Linked DNA regions of Homo sapiens: region 2 is linked to region 1. Evidence: promoter capture Hi-C in human tissues and cell types (Jung and others, 2019). All regions are on one chromosome and are shown on one strand. The core of a region is centred on a gene start or on the middle of the fragment in contact, and the rest is flanking DNA. Distances in the headings are between cores, read along the strand shown. Region 1 holds the start of DNTTIP2 (deoxynucleotidyltransferase terminal interacting protein 2). Region 2 overlaps MTF2 (metal response element binding transcription factor 2).

The links. Contacts are between HindIII fragments. The study calls those that stand out against the background at their distance.
Region 2: a fragment that was not itself captured here is called in contact with the fragment with the promoter of DNTTIP2 in region 1 in 1 of the 25 tissues and cell types used here (stomach).

What each region holds. Positions count from the first base shown.
Region 1 is chr1:93,877,938-93,880,471 of GRCh38, forward strand. It overlaps DNTTIP2 (deoxynucleotidyltransferase terminal interacting protein 2), which reads right to left and starts at 1,269. Exons shown (of 7, transcript NM_014597.5): 1 at 1,140-1,269. The coding sequence starts at 1,211. RefSeq lists enhancers at 995-1,424, 1,276-2,091. The HindIII fragment of the contact is 10,129 bases long and covers 1-2,534 here.
Region 2 is chr1:93,092,035-93,094,568 of GRCh38, forward strand. All of the region lies in intron 1 of MTF2 (metal response element binding transcription factor 2), which reads left to right. Among named protein-coding and RNA genes, the nearest start is that of MTF2, 14 kb to the left of the region's middle. The HindIII fragment of the contact is 6,936 bases long and covers 1-2,534 here.

The DNA of each region.
Region 1 (2,534 bases), core at 19-2,518:
AAAGCTAAAACCCAGTAAACAAGATTACCTTTAAAACAAAAAACAAAAAAACCTGCCCAACTCATGATTTTTAAAAAATCAAAATTTGGCCGGGCGCGGTGGCTTACGGCTGTAATCCCAGCACTCTGGGAGGCCGAGGCAGGTGGATCACGAGGTCAGGAGTTCGAGACAGCTTGGCCAACATAGTGAAACCCCATCTCTACTCAAAGTAAAAAAATTAGCGGGGCGTGTTGGTGCGCACCTGTAATCCCAACTACTCAGGAGCCTGAGGCAGAAGAATTGTTGGAATCCGGGAGGCAGAAGTTGCAGTGAGCCGAGGCTGCGCCACTGCACTCTAGCCTGGGCGACAGAGCAAGACTCCGAATCAAAAACAAACAAACAAAAAAATCAAAATTTAAACACTGGAGCCAACCCTGCATTTACTTCACTAGCCTCATCCTTCCTAGATGTAACTTCAGAAGCAGAACGATTAAAATTTTTCTGTTTAAAGTCAAATATAATGGGTAGACCAACATTCTGACCCACCTATAGAAGAGGGGAGAAAGGGAATATTAACTCTGAACACCGATGTGTTTAGGAACACACTGATGGAATCAGTCGCCGCCCTTACCTTTACGTACAGGAAAAAATCGCCGCCGCTCCGTTCCCTGCATCGCTGAGTCAGAATGAGACAGCCGACTAACGCCACTAAGAGTCACCAGGCGACGACACCACAGCCCTCCTCACGCCTTAAGGAGGTGATGCTGGACAGCTGCCAGCCTCCCCACGTGAAAACGAAGCTTTTTTTCCAGCCCCCCTAAATGGGGCTTGTGCATGGTGGCCGAAATTAACCCTCCTTGGTACCGTGTTAACAGTAAGGTTTAAAAGTTCGAACTGTGCTTCTGCATTAAGGAGTTGAACGACCCAAATAAAGTTATCTAACCTCTCTTCCATACTAAAAATTGCCTTAAGAGACAGTGGTGAAGGCTAAACAGTTTCCGTGACAGGCTTAGCACGGGGCCTGGGAGACCCAAGCGCGCGGCAAGCTCGGGTCCTCTCTGTCGGCAGGTCCTCACCCTTAACCGGACCCTTGCGCCGCCCCGCCTGCCTGAGCGCGGCTCTGCGAAGCGGCGAGAAGTAGGGAAGACTGGATTTCCTACCTTTTGCCCGGAACTTTCAGCCGACGCGGCTTGGATGCTGGCCTTAGCCCGTGCAGATCTGGTAACCACCATCTTTCCGGCTCCCTCGCGACCACCACGACTTCCCTCTTCCCTGGCGCTCCGGAAATGCGTCAGAGAACTGCCTCGAGCGCGTTTTCCGCGCAGATCCGAGAATTCGCGAGAATCTCCGCCCAGCCAGTTCAGGCCAGGGCGGTCAGAGACAAAGGGCCTGGGTTTAAGTGTGCATTTCAGAGCTGTAGAAGGCAAGCCAGATTTTTGCTGGGAAAGACCTTCATCGGGGCGGCGAAGCCCGCAGTGACAGAGGGTCTTAGCGTACCCGTTCACATGAATTGTAAAAACGCACTTACATGCCATTCGTTCTTTCATTTGTTTAGTAGAATCGTTTGAACCCGGGAGGCGTTCTTTCATTTCTACGTTCTAAAGAGCTTAATGTAGCCATTGGTATGTCCAAGGGAGAAGTTTGAGATATTTGTGCTTTTTAAAGAAAGACAATATTTACTCGTGTATTGTGACGCTAACTATAAATAAAATTTAAGGACTTGGTTGGGGTAAAAGGGATATAAGGTGCTCGCAGGAACTGGGAGACGAAGTGGAAAGCTGTATAATCTAAACGTGAGATGGTGTTTAGGGATTGGGAATAGCAGAAAAGAAAAAAACGTTAAAGAAATTGTAAAGGAGAAGAATAAGGTTTTGTTGTTGTTGTTGTTGTTGTTATTGTCACAGTGAAAGGAAGAGTATGACCAGAATCAAGAGGTTTCTTTGGTTATCTTTTGAGATAAAAGGTAGAGAACTATGTTTGAGGGGATGGGAAGGGGTTGAAAAAATAAGTAAACGCAAATTATTGTTGGAGGTGAGAAAGGATGAATGAGTGCCTCACCAAACCTAGTCTCTACTTCATGACAGAAAACCAATTTTTTATTTAAAGTCACAGAACACTGTGTCGATGGACACACTGCTTCCCAGCTTAAAATAGCTTATTTTATAGTCTCTCTTGCAGCCAAATGTGGCTATGTGACTACGTTTTAGCCAATTAGGTATAAATTGTGTGCATGTCTTTAGGGACGGCATCTAAAAGAGAGGAGGCCGTCCCTGACTTTTTTTTTTGGAGACGGAGTCTTGCTCTGTCGCCCAGGGTGGAGTGCAATGGCGCAATCTTGGGTCACTGCAACCTCCGCCTCCCGGGTTCAAGCGATTCTCCTGCTTCAGCCTCCTGAGTAGCTGAGATTACAGGCGCCCGCCACCATTCCTGGCTAATTTTTTTTTTGTATTTTTAGTAGAGACGGGGTTTCACCATGTTGGGCAGGCTGGTCTTGAACTCCTGCCTTCAGGTGATTCACCCGCCTCGGCCTCTCAAAGTGCTGGGATTACAGTGCT
Region 2 (2,534 bases), core at 13-2,512, 790 kb before region 1:
GTTTTCATGTGCTGGATGTCTTAGATGAGCCTTTGGTTGTCTTAATCTGTTTTCTCTTATTATATATGTTTGGTTTTTCTTCTCTTGAAATTTTTATTTTGGCTATAATTTTATTTCTTAGAGCTCCTTATTATTTCATGGATGTAATATTTTCTCATATCTCTGAGGATATTAATTGGTTATTGAAACAGTTTTTTCACATACCAACTATTAACATTCTTTAGAACTAGTATTCAGAAAATATCCTTTTGAAACACTACCATAGATGTTGATGTTACCAAGGGTTTGTCTTCACTGCTTTTGGTTTGTCTTCACTGCTTTTATCATTTTCTATCTTTTAAAAAGTAAATTTGGAATATTTAATGGCATGCTACTTGCTAAAAGTTTAAAAATCAGATAATTTTGAAATTAAAAGGCTTTTTTACCAAAACAATGTAGTTTCTTTTCTGTTCCCTCCGCCCCTTCCCACTCCTTAGAGGCAATAACTTTTAACCCTTAGCTAATTCTTTATATCTCTAAATAAAATAGCACTGCATTTAGATTCATCAATTTTATATATTTTTTATAATGTTAGATGAGAATGAATGAGGAGAGGAATAAGGGGGTAAGCTTTCTCTATAAATATATTCTCTGTAACATAATGTTAGATGAAACATAATGTTATAGAGAAAGCTTTCTCTATAAACATGTTAGATGAGAAAGAAATTCATTGCTTCTCTCCTCATTCTTTCAGTATAGTTATATAAAACATTTTAAACTGTTTTCATTTGTGAGTATATAAAAATTGTTTACATATGAAGAACCACGTAGAATATGGTACCACAAAGTAGTGGTGAGGGTTAGTTAATGCTTGTAAAGAATTTAGAGGCCGGGTGCGATGGCTCACACCTGTAATCCCAGCACTTTGGGAGGCCAAGGCGGGCAAATCACGAGGTTAGGAGATCGAGATCATCCTGGTTTGCACGGTGAAATCCTGTCTCTACTAAAAATACAAAAAATTAGCCAGGCGTGGTGGCACATACCTGTAATCCCAGCTACTTGGGAGGCTGAGGCAGGAGAATCGCTTGAACCCGGGAGGCAGAGGTTGCAGTGAGCTGAGATCACACCACTGCACTCCAGTGTGGGCGACAGAGTGAGACTCTGTCTCAAAAAAAAAAAAAATTTAAAATAGTGTCAAATACTTGTTAGCTGTTATTTCTAGATTTACATTTTTTTCTTATACAACTATGTTTAAAAATTGCCTCATTAAAAAACAAAATTTGCCTAGTTTTCTTTGAACATTAAAATCTTCATACATCTTCAGTTCCACAAAATGTCTCACAGTGCACTTTTCCACAATGTCAATCTGTCATCTAATTTATCAGTGCCATTTATTTTTCTTAGAGATATCCTCCTGGAGTTCTTCTGGAGTTCTGCTCTAATTTGGACTGGTTCTCTAGACCTGCTGCATGGAAGTTGTCTTGGGGCTTTCCTTTACCACCATCCTGGGAATTCCTTTCTCTTCCCTTCTGTGTGACATACCTTGCATTCCGTGCCTGCCTTTTATTTGGTTTACTCCCTCTGTTTAGTTTTATTAAGCTCAAATAAAGTGTGCTTGGGGGATAAATCTTTAAATACTTTATATGGCTGAAAATGTTCTAATTTTCATACACATACACTCTTTTTTTAAAAAAATACATTTTAGAGATAGGGTCTCTCTGTGTTGCCCAGGGTGGAGTGTAGTGGCTATTCACAGGCATGATCATAGTACACTACAGCCCTGAACTAGGCTCAAGCGATCCTCCTGCCTCAGCCTCTGGAGTAGCTGGGACTACAGGAGTGTGCCACTGTAGCCCAGCTTTACTTACTCTTTTTAGTCCCTTGATTGATAATTTGACTGGTTATAAGGTTGATTTTCACCCAGAATTTATTTTTCACTCAGATTTTTAAGTGAATAGTTCCACTGTCTTCTGACTTGTAATATTGCTATAATGATTATTATTCTCAGTCCCTTGTTAGTTGCCCTTTTATCTCTTTGTAAACGTAGTATCTTTGTCCTTGATTTTCTTAGAACAGGTTTTTTTTGTTCAGTTTGCTGGACACTTGTGGCCTTTTCAATCTGGTTACTTCTTTCAGTACTGGGATGTTTTCTTTTACTTTGATAATTTTTTCTCCACTTTTTTTCTGTTTTCACATGTTGGATATTTCTGATTGGTCCTCTAATTTTCTTAATCTGTTTTCTCTTATTTTCTATCTTGGTTATATAAGGTGAAAACTTTTGTAATCACCCCAGGGTCAAAAGTAGAACATTGCCAGCTAACCCAGAAACCCACATTGCAACCCTTTCATCCCCCAGATAATCTCCATCCTGACTTCTGTGGTGATTATTTTTTCTTTGTAGTCTTATTATTCAGATGTGCATTTTGAGGGTTGTAGTTTAATTTACTAGTTTTAAAATATATGTTTTAAGATTTTTTTTCAATTACAGGTTCTATCTTAGATCTTGCCTCTTTTTTTCTGTGGAGTTTATTTGTGGGAGAAACCAGGTCATTTGT